Regions from separate parts of the Homo sapiens genome. Here regions 2 and 3 are each linked to region 1. The links are contacts of gene promoters, found by promoter capture Hi-C in blood cells and fetal thymus (Javierre and others, 2016). All regions are on one chromosome and are shown on one strand. The core of a region is centred on a gene start or on the middle of the fragment in contact, and the rest is flanking DNA. Distances in the headings are between cores, read along the strand shown. Region 1 holds the start of MAST4 (microtubule associated serine/threonine kinase family member 4). Region 2 overlaps LINC02229 (long intergenic non-protein coding RNA 2229). Region 3 overlaps MAST4 (microtubule associated serine/threonine kinase family member 4).

The links. The method cuts DNA at HindIII sites, captures the fragments that hold promoters and counts their contacts. A CHiCAGO score of 5 or more calls a contact.
Region 2: a contact is called between a fragment that was not itself captured here and the fragment with the promoter of MAST4 in region 1, in 1 of 17 cell types (total B cells). The highest score is 6.5, in total B cells.
Region 3: a fragment that was not itself captured here is called in contact with the fragment with the promoter of MAST4 in region 1 in 2 of 17 cell types (megakaryocytes and M1 macrophages); the score reaches 6.1 in megakaryocytes.

The regions. Positions count from the first base shown.
Region 1 is chr5:66,594,113-66,597,766 of GRCh38, forward strand. MAST4 (microtubule associated serine/threonine kinase family member 4) reads left to right here and starts at 2,281. Exons shown (of 29, transcript NM_001164664.2): 1 at 2,281-2,906. The coding sequence starts at 2,544. RefSeq lists silencers at 1,917-2,116, 2,727-2,866, 2,877-3,026. The HindIII fragment of the contact is 7,618 bases long and covers 1-3,654 here.
Region 2 is chr5:66,505,798-66,509,538 of GRCh38, forward strand. It overlaps LINC02229 (long intergenic non-protein coding RNA 2229), which reads right to left. Exons shown (of 3, transcript NR_105001.1): 2 at 2,979-3,150; 3 at 1,747-2,187. All of the region lies in intron 1 of LOC105379002 (a long non-coding RNA gene), which reads left to right. Among named protein-coding and RNA genes, the nearest start is that of LINC02229, 3.9 kb to the right of the region's middle. The HindIII fragment of the contact is 205 bases long and covers 2,065-2,269 here.
Region 3 is chr5:66,715,217-66,718,947 of GRCh38, forward strand. All of the region lies in intron 1 of MAST4 (microtubule associated serine/threonine kinase family member 4), which reads left to right. Among named protein-coding and RNA genes, the nearest start is that of MAST4, 120 kb to the left of the region's middle. The HindIII fragment of the contact is 2,513 bases long and covers 1,003-3,515 here.

The DNA.
Region 1 (3,654 bases), core at 1,031-3,530:
TTACAGATTGAATCAATACAGCAAAGTTTCTTCCCTATGGATATTTATAATATGGTATATATATATATTTGAAAAAGCTGTCTGTTTTGAGTGGCATTGTATTAATACTAGAATGCCTAGGAAAGACAGCCTTGGAATCAGGTTGCTGGGTTCCAAACCACAGCTCCACTGCTTACTTGCTGTGTGACCTTTGCAGATCCTCAGTTTCTTAATCAATAAAGTGGGACTAATAGAATCTGTTTCACAAGGTTGTTGCCAGGATTAAATGAGACCATCCAGAGAAGATGCAGAGGACTCAGGCGATAATAACTATTGTCATTCTTGCTGTCGGTTATTCAGACCATGACCTTGCTTCTTATTTCCCTATGTACTGAAAAGCAACTCCTCCTCTTCTTTTATGTGCATGGCTGAAATTGTCATTTCAGTTCAGCTCTGGTGAATCAACCACGTAGGGGCTCAGATAAAGACCAGAACTCCTAAATAGGAAAGTAATTGTGAGGCCCGGGTTAAATTCGGACTGCCCCACTGTGCTCTCTCTTTAGCCTTGCTCTCACAACTTAGCTGCCACTAGACTTGACCTTTTGCCTCAGCAGGTCTTCATATCCCTGTGAATAATTCAGAAGCGTCACAATGAAAGCCTGACAACCGGAGTCCATTTTGCAGTATGGCTGTCTGAAGCAAGATAGACAAAACGTATTTCCTTCCCCTTCATCTTGAGGGGAGGAAACTGATCAGGACAAAGGTTGCTGTCCAATATGATGAAGCCCTCTGTGTGATGTATCACTTGTAAATACCATGATAGCATGAAAGGCTCATTAGCTGAAGGGGCTTTCAATTAGGGTCCTCCAGTTTTTAAGGACCTTTGGCAAGGCTGCTCTGACAAAGAGAAATCTAAGATGCTCAAGGACCTGCTACTGTTTTTCTGTAACTCTTTCCTCTTCTCCCTCACACATTTTTCCTGTATCACTTATCACAGCTTCTAAAATGGATAAGGGAGCTATATTATGCAGTATCAATCTCTCGCTTGACCATAAGCTGCTCAAGGGCAGGGGACCTGACTTATTAATCTTTGTATCCCCTGCACCTGGCACACATCTCCATCAACGTACATGGAACTGAGGCGGTTGAATTTACATCCCAGGTCACTGTGCCAGAGCTCAGAATGGGACTAGAGCTGAAGGCAAGAGAGGAATCATTTATTTCCCACTGCTGAGCTGAGTGCTGGCTTCCAAGGAAATTCCAGTCACCGGACAGGCAGCATCCTCCAGCCCCAGGGAAGGACTTAAGGGTACTCTATTGGTACCTTTAGTGAAAGTTCTTTCTCCTAGTTCTTAGAGGTAAGGAAAATGAAGCAACCTGTCCTGTATCCTGTTGGTTTACAACCCAGGGCTAGGAGAATGTACATTGGAAAGTGAATCCTTTTCATCCTCTGCTTAGCTGATCATACCGAGACAGACAATTTGAGTAGGACTACAGAGCTTGGTCCTAATTAAATACAAGGACATACTTTTTTATCTTCCTCCCTATCAAAAGGTTCAAGTCTCAGACTTAACTTTTTAGTTTACAAACAGAAATAAAGACAGGAAATAGTCTTTTAAAAACGCTCCGTGTATCCAAGCCAGGCACTTTGCTGATGCATTATATATATTTGCTCTAAGCCTGCCAAGACCAGTAGTAATGTAGCCATTTACAGTTGAGGAAACTGAGGCCCAAAGAGCTTAAACGGAAAAGCAGAGATTAGAGGTCACTCCCCTTTGGGTCCGCTCACTATACCACGAAGTTTCTGTCCTTTTCCTCCAACACGCTGGTGAGTCCGTGTGCGTGGGTGACTGTGTGTGTGTGGTTCCTTTTTTCCCTATAGAGCCCTCCTTCTTGTCCGTTTTCTTGATTCCACTTTTTGGAGACAAAGTCCAGTTCTTCTCCAAGGTCTCACCATCCGCTCGCCGTCTCCCTCTGACGTCCCAAGGACGGTCAGCCACTCCCCCGCTAAGTTCGGAGTCTCAGCCCTTGGCTCCGATTCTGGGCTCCGCCCCCACCCTCCGGGGACCCCCGCCTGGTCCCTGTCCCCTGCGCCCAGGCGCTCCAGCGGGACCACGGCCCGCGCCCGGGCCCCGCCTCCCCTACCTGAGGCCCTCATGGCCGGAGGCGTCGCAGCCTCCGCCCACCAGCGCGCCTGCCCTGCCATTGGCTCTGCGGGCTGCCCGTCTCCTTGCTCCGTCCCGGAGGCAGGTTTTGCAAGGAGAAGCCGCAGTACCCGCGGCTCGGGTGCAGCGCGGGAGCACAGTGGAGCGCAGATCGCGGACCCGAGCGGGCATGTCCCCGCGCGCGGGAGCCTCCGTTTGCGGCCGGGCCCGGGCGGCTGTGAACTTAGCAGCGGGCTCCTGCGGCCCCGTCACTGCCATGTAGTCGCTGGCGGGGCTCCCTGCAGCCCGGGAGCGGCAGTGCCAGTGAGCCTGAGCCCAGGAGCCCGCGTCTTCCCCGGGAGGCGCTGAGTGCGCGCCGCGCCCCCGCCGCTCGGGAGGCACTTTGGGCCAGACAGGGAAATGGGGGAGAAAGTTTCGGAGGCGCCAGAGCCGGTGCCCCGCGGCTGCAGTGGCCACGGCAGCCGGACTCCAGCCTCTGCGCTGGTCGCCGCGTCCTCTCCGGGTGCTTCCTCGGCCGAGTCCTCCTCGGGCTCAGAAACTCTGTCGGAGGAAGGGGAGCCCGGCGGCTTCTCCAGAGAGCATCAGCCGCCGCCGCCGCCGCCGTTGGGAGGCACCCTGGGCGCCCGGGCGCCCGCCGCGTGGGCTCCGGCAAGCGTGCTGCTGGAGCGCGGAGTCCTTGCGCTGCCGCCGCCGCTTCCCGGAGGAGCTGTGCCGCCCGCGCCCCGGGGCAGCAGCGCGTCCCAGGAGGAGCAGGACGAGGAGGTGGGCCTTTCCCCAGCTTGCCCACTCTGGGTTCCGGCAGCCGGGCGACCGTAGTTTCCCATCCTGCGCACAGGCAGTGGGCAGGAGAGCGCTGTGGCCTGGAGATAGGGAGGGACCCCAAGCGCTCTGCCCCGAGCACGGGACAACGATAGTTAGGAGCCCCCCTGTGGGTTATTGACTTCCCTGTGGCTGTTACCCCCGTGTGTGTGTCTCAGTGTGCTGCCTGATGGTGTGTTTTTAAAATGTCAGAGAAGCAAACTCCTTCGTGTTTGTATCTGACTTGGTTGATCTGTGAAAGGATGCGATCTGGACATCTGGCGTGTCCCCACAACTCACCTCTGATTCTCCAAAGTGGGCGTTGTTTCCCACCGAAGCGCTTGGGCCGAGGGGCAGGGAGTTGAGGGGGAGAAATGGTGCCTTGGGGGTAAGAGGCAGGAGTAGGGTGGGGGGCAGCGGTAGCCGCGGAGTTGCCTGCGGAGGTTTCAGTGGCGCCAGCCCCCTGGGATCGCCCGCGGGTGGTTTTGGCGCGTCCCCGCAGCGTCGGTCCTCTGGGAGAAGAGGACTCCCCGCGCTCCCTCGGTGGCGCTGGCGTGCGCGCCTGCAGCTCCCGTTCAGACTTGTTTCCAGCTTGTCCAGATGAACGCTTGTCACCAAACCGAGTACAGATCGTCTTACCTTTTGCGGGGCGGAGCGGGGTGGGGGATCTGTATCTGCCCAGTTTCCTGGAAGGATGTTCCTCCAGAACTTG
Region 2 (3,741 bases), core at 917-3,416, 88 kb before region 1:
CCCGTATGCATCTTCTTAAACCATACTTAATCATAAAAATAAAGATAATAGCAGGGTCACATTTCCACCCAACATGATACAACTATCTCTTTTTTTGTTTGTTTTTTGAGATGGAGTCTCATTCTGTTGCCCAGGCTGGAGTGCACTGGCGTGATCTTAGCTCACTGCAACCTCCACCACCCGGTTGAAGTGCTTCTCCTGCCTCAGCCTCCCAAGTAGCTGGGATTACAGGCACCCACCACCATGCCTGGCTAATTTTTTTGGTATTTTTAGTAGAGGTGGAGTTTCACCATGTTGGCCAGGCTGGTCTTGAACTCCTGACCTCAGGTAATCCTCCTGCCTCGGCCTCCCAAAGTGCTGGGATTACAGGCGTGAAATACAACTATCTTACATATAAGTGAAAATGTACAATTACTTTCTCCAGAAGAGGATTCAAAGTCCCTGGGTGTTGCCTACTCTTCTCCTTGATATCTCAGAACTTAAATACTTTGATAAAGACAAGCTAAATACTATGACATATATCGTATGTTAGGTGATAAAGGGATAAGAGTAGGAAGAAAACAAAGATGTTTGATACACACATACACATATAACAAAATAAGGAGGAAATGCTCATGTGAATGACAGTCCTTATTTCTGTAACGGGTCATGTGGCTGTAGCTGGTATTTATAACTGCCTTCTTCCACTACCTATTCCATGTTCCCTTTGTTCTCATCAAGCACCTTAGCTTGTTATAGTTATTTATAGTTCTTTACCTGAAAACGGGGGTGAGGATGACATGCAAATCTATCATTCCTGAAGAGTCTGGGCCAATCGTAGCCCAGCCCAGATTGGATTATTGTAGTTTTCCATTGACTTTAATCACAGGACACTGTAATAACAAGAGATGCCTTAAGGGAACTCCTGTATTCCCGATGTAGTCTTCATTACCTTCATTGTGGGATAGCAGTCTTATTTCTCCCTGGTAGTCAGAGTCAACCACCCTAGCTGGTATAGCAACACCCTTCATTGTCTGTTGATTTAGAGGCATAAGGATCCCAAAATGGCTGCATGTCAGAATCATTACTGTGATCCTGGTTGAACTAAAACCTCGTAGCTAGCAGAGCATAAGGTCACAGGGACAGAAAACATTTTGCTAGTGAGTCAGTAGGAGTAATAATTATGCCACTCCATTACCATCCCTTGATTCCTGGACCCACGAATCTTGGCTGTGGGTACTATACATCCAGTAGTACTATATATTTGATACTGATTTAAAGTGTATACAGCCTTACAGAGAACCTTGCCCCAGCCCTGCAAGATATTGCCACCTAGATGGCACGAAACTATAAGGCCTACCTGTAACAGAGTCTTCAAAAGGCCATACCAGTGTTCCATCAAGCCAGCTTCTTAAGAATGTTGGGGGACATGGTAAGACCAGTGAATTCCCTGAGCATGGGCCCATTGCCACACTTGATTTGCTGTGAAGTAATTTCCTGGATCAGAAGCAATGCTGTGTGGAATACCATCATGGTGGATAAGGCATTCTGTAAGTTCACAGATGGTAGTTTTGGCAGAAGCATTACGTACAGGGAAAGCAAATCTGTATCCATAGCAGAGTCTTTTTATTTCTCCTAGCACATAATGTTCTGGGTCAATCCTCCTTTCTAAAACAGTATACAAACATAAACACAGCTTATTGACTTGTTGCAGATACCATAAAAAAAAACTGGCAATATAGAAAGCCCATGAAAGAATTAACAGTATTTAAAAACTAGAACAAATTTAATAACGCTTTATATAAATTTGCTGCATCCACGGAAGTATGGAAACACTCACATTCCAGATATCAACCTGAGTTACAGAAGTTAAAACCTCTCCAAATACATCACCAATTTTCCCTGGTACTAAACACAGTCATCTTCTAGAAAGAAACACCAGTGACCCATATTTTAAACTAAAGCACACACTGCTTTTTGTAAAAAAGCAAAGTCATTTAAAGCAGCTAATTAAAATACCATTTAAGCAATTGCAATGGGTAACAGGATCATAAAATCATTAGTAAAGTAGAAGTTTGTCACTGAAGCTTCCACATGATCTTATAGACTAGAAGTAGACTGGTCAGGCTTCATAGACATCAGCTAACTGAAGGCACCAAACTCCATTAAGTCCTCAAATTTCAGTGTCTTATTTTTTTCTGAGCACCACTAGAACAAGAAAGAAAAAGCAATGGTAAGAGAAATATACCATGACCTATGATAGGGATTAGTTTTAAATTTTAGCCATAAAAGCTTAGTGTTGGTTTTTTTTATATATAAGCCATCTAGGTCAAATACTTACTGAATACTTATATATGCTTGTGCTTTGCTGGCCAATTTGGGGAAGGATAAAAGAGGTATTCAATGCTATGAGATGCTTCAGCCTAATTGAAAAGACTTGGACAATTAAAGCTCAGGGCAGTGAGTATGACAGAGTACCAATTAGATGTGAGAGGTAGTGCCTGCAGCAGGTCTCAGGGAACTATGAGATGCTGACCAATAGCACCCTACCTGTAGCAGCTATTCACAGCAAGGATGAATTCACAACCATAAATAAATTATGTATTGTTTGGTTCTAATTTGGATAAAATATTTTTATAACTTAAACTACCCAGTCATCTGTGTTGCCTGGAACAAGAACTTCCTAGGAGACCTAGGGAGTCTGCCCTGCTTCAATTGGAGGCCTAACGATTCTGCCCTGCTTCAATTATAAATTCCATGCCCCATGGAGTTCTTATTCTTAAACCTGTAAGTCCTGGCCTAGACACTCCCAGGCAGGTGGTGAACAGTGTGAAAGGACAGGCTAGTAAAGAGCCTCTGCCCTGGGAGCAGCACATATCTTGGTGCAGCCTTCTTGCCAGTGCTATTCTCCCTAACTTTGAACTTCCGAAGTCCCTCTGCCTAGGTGTTCCAGCTATACCTGATCCTTTTACATTTCCTGTTCTCTGGATGGTACTTGCCTGACTGCTGGGGTTGGCCTCCTGTTTCCAGTTCCATCTACTTCCTTCCATGTCCTTCACGGCTTCTCTGACCTGTCATGCCAACAGATTGCTCATGTTGGTAGAGCTCTGAATCCTAAACAGCCGCTCTGAAGCCCGAATTCACTCTATTCTGGATGATTTCACTCTTGATCTGGAAAAGGAAGAAAAGCCTTTAAGTGATTTTCCTCAGAGGTACTGTGTTGGTGTTCTGCTCTGCTTATGCTTTCACTGTGGCTGTGCCTCAGGCTCCTGGCTGCAGCCCATTTCTTTTCTGACCTCCACTCTCTCTCCCTGGACAATCTCATTCCCCTATGCCTGTAAGCTTCATCTTTCCTCTGATGAATCCCCAGTCCCTCCTCCAGGTTTTAGAGTATCTGAGCTGGCCAGGGACCTAAGCTACAAGACACAGAGGCTAACTGAAGCACTAAAGTAAATTATCAAAGAGATACTGTGTAGCTCCCAGAGTTGTTCGAAAAACTGGAGAACAAGACATAGAAAATAGGCTGGAAGAAAGGGAGGCAGAGCTAAGCCACAGCATTTGTCCAAGGAGGTCCCTACTGCCCCAAACACTGGACACTGCAGTTTGTTCTGCCAGTGTTACTCCTTGGGAAATGGGTGTTGTTGCCACCTCCAGAATGAATTCTCCACTGACCTTGCTTCTTTGAGCAACTTGCTCCTAATTCAGACTCTCAGATGGGTGCATCTGATTGGCCAAACCTAGATCATGTGTACATATCCTAGC
Region 3 (3,731 bases), core at 1,009-3,508, 120 kb after region 1:
GAAAAAGGGAAAATGAGAAGATTGTTGTATAGAGGGCATGAATCTAATGTCTTAGAAATTAGTCCTTTTGCAAATCAAATGTCTTCTAATTTTTTTAAACAAAACTGAACATGACCCTGAACAGTTTGTCAAAAAATGATGATTATCATGTAATGTGTTGATGATTTTTTTGGCATAAATCTCAGGAATTTAAAGAATTAAGGGCCACAGCTATCACAACACTTCTTTCATTCCCATCAACTTATTTACATGAACAAGGCTTTTACTTTAATACCAAAAAATGGAGTGGACCGGGGACTGTTGTGGGGTGGGGGGAGGGGGGAGGTATAGCATTAGGAGATATACCTAATGCTAAATGACGAGTTAATGGGTGCAGCACACCAACATGGCACATGTATACATATATAATAAACCTGCACATTGTGCACATGTACCCTAAAACTTAAAGTATAATAATAATAAAATAAAAATTAAAAAAAAAATTTAACCTGAAAGACTGGTTCAGGCCATGACAGGAAAAAAAAAAAAAAAAAATGGAGTGGAATTACTGTTGAAATATTGCTTATTCTGACAATAAAAATACTCATTTATGGATACAGATATCAAATTATCCTATCCATCTCATTGAGGAATGCATTTCCAATAAAAATTTACTTTAATGCTTTAACTTTTAATCATTATAAAATTATACATTTGTTCTCTCAAATTGCATTCTACTAATAGTTTTAATGATAATCTAGATTAAATTTTTAACATTTAGAACCATTTGGTCACAGGAAATAAAAAATACATTTTAATTTTCATAACTATTTTTGTTGCAGAAGGAGTATGATAGTATGATCAATAAAAAACCCTAAAACATAAAAGTGTTTTATTAGGATAAAATTCTGTGAGAGAAATGGAATGGAAATATAAATTTAAGGGAAAAAAAGGAACTATAAAAATTTGAGCGTAAAAGGGAAGGTTGTTCATGTATTTTAAATAACAATGGATACATTTAAAAGCTTGAATAAAAGCAGTTTCATTTTAAAATTTCATTATTTACAGTATGCAAGAAATTATATACCATGCCACTATTTAAACCTAGGATGAACAATTTTAGATTTGATCTCTCTCTCTATGTGTGTGTATGTGTGTATGTATGTGTGTATTTAGAGAGGGGGTCTTACTCGGTTGCCCAGCCTGGAGTGCAATGATGCAATCACACTTACTTTGAACTCATGAGCTCAAGCAATCCTCCTATGTCAGCCTCCCGAGTAGCTGGGACTACAGGTGTACATCACCGTGCCCAGCTAATTAAAAAAAAAATTTTTTTTTTTTTTTCTGTAGAGACAGGGTCTCCCTATATTACCCAGGCTGGTCTTGAACTCCTGGCCTCAAGCAGTCCTTCCACCTTGGCCTCCCAAAGTGCTGGGATTATAGGCATGAGCCATTGTGCCCAGCCTAGATTTTGTCTTTAAATTGTGTTAGAAGATATATGGATTTTAAAATTCTTTGTAGACCATTTCTCCAGGGCATCTGACCTGGACAGGTAGGGCTCATGATAGAAGCATACATCCCTTGTTTGTTGTGTTTTTTGGCTATCACCTTGACTACATTAACCATTGTAGTAGAGTACCATGACCAGAACTGATGTCACCTTTATCATTTATATCTTTCCCTTCTGTTTTGACTGAATTCCCAATAAGCCAAGCAATATCCATTCAACAAACACATGTCTCCTAGTGCATTATGCATGGGTCTCACAGGTGAAGAGGACAAAGTTCTCCCTCAAGGAGCTCATTCTGTAGGGGGAGACCAGCGCTTCTGATCCCAGGCGATGAGTATTAAGCGGGAGGGAAGCGAGGCTTTCCATGGCACACTGGACCCTGAAGAGGAGCGTTTCCTAGAGGAGCCTGGACTTCAGGCTAAGCAGAGCCCTGGAGGATGGAGACCCAGGATGGGCCCAGGACTATCCAGCCAGGTGAGGGAGGAGGCTACCCTATACTCTGTGGCTTGGAGGTGGAGAGGAGGGATTCATTCCTGGCAAAAATGCTGCTATTAAGATAGAAAGAGAGCCATCATTCTTGAATTAGGGGTTAAGGAGGCAGGGAGATGCCTATTTCTATGGTTTTTAAAACATTTCTTCTCTAATTTTCTTATGTAGGCAAAGGTCAAAGTGGATATTTTTACTATTATAAATTAGTAGCTATGCCTATATTCATAAAGAAAGGCCTCCTTTGGCACTTTTAGTTTTGACTGTTTTCTAGCAAATTGTGGGTGAGTACCATATCCAATGTATTAATTTTGACATATGGTTACACCTAGTGCAGTCTCAGCCAGGCAGTCCCTTGGGGTTACAAAGGCATAGAGTTAAATTTCCCAAGTTGGAAAAAGGCTTTCAGAAATGAGTTTCTCACTCCACTTGAAGTGGCTTTGCTACTGTTTCCCTGGGGAGGTTGCTAGGCATTTAATAGATCTCCATGTTAGGAAAATAAATTCTTTCTAGCATTGAAGTCTAAGGTGTTGTTCCCCCACCCCTTGGCCTCAGATTTGTGTGGTGGAGGCTGCAGCTAATCTCCCTTATGTTTATATTTATAAAACGTTTCCAGATGATTATCTCTTCCTGGTATCATTTGGCTAGTCCCAGGTATTCATTGTCTCAGTCATTCCCAGTTAGGCATAGCCCTGCTCACTGCCTGAGGGAAGGAAGGAGGCCGTGGGACCGCTGGGTCTAAGCCTGGTTCCTACCACCTCCCCACAGCTGTTAGCCTTCCTCCATCCCTGAGTTCTCACTGGGACATGAGGGACTGCGTTTCAGCTGTGACAGTATTTTGTTGCTCTTGGCCATTGCACAGTGGCTTACATCCTGTGTGCTTTAAAAAAAAAATGTCTCTTTCAAAGGCTCTTTTCAGAGTCTATGGGATGAGATGCACAGAGACAGACTATATATATTTAAAACCAGTGGGTTTTTTTTTCTTTTTTTTTTCTTTTTTTTTTGCTTTGCTGAGAAAAAGCATAAGCAAATGAGAGGGACTCTATTTGAAGGTTTTTTTTGTTTGTTTTTTTGTTTTTTTGTTTTCAAAGCACCTTTTACAGCTTGTCTTTCGGTATAAATGATTAAGTTATGATGTCATCTTGCTCCTTAGACACACGGCTTCTTCTACATGCTGGCATTTTTGTATGGTGAAGTCTCTTTTGGTGCCTCCTGAACCTGAGGACCCCATGAGTGCCTGGGCCAGTTCAGGTGCCCAGGAGAGGCTGATATGAGAGTGAGTGTGCTTGGCCCCGTGTGTGGTGGTATCTGTCTCAGGGCCCCTGGCTCTGGCAAGGTCATGTGGTATATAGCCTTTTCAGAGAAAGGGCCTGAGGGTTTTGTGGACAGCCTGAAAGATATCTATTACAGTGTTGTTTTTTCTGTTTGAAAATAAGAGAACTGAGCTGTTTTGAGAAATATCACTGAGTTTTTTACTAATGCCTCATCTCCCCAAGTTTGTCTGGATGTGCTCTGTTCCGGTAAAGCCAAGTTCCTGTAAAGCTTCGTTATCCTCCTTGAATCTTCTTCCTCTTTTGTATCATGCATTCGAGGGCTTGTTCCCTCTTGTTCCCTCTCGAGCTATTCCATTTCTCTTCTGTGCTTCTTGCTTGACTTCGAGTATAGTTTGTGAGTGCAGCTCTGCATTTTGAAAGCATGACCTGGCGTCATTCTTAGTAATAGCTTTGTAAATTCACATGCTTAACCATGTAGACTG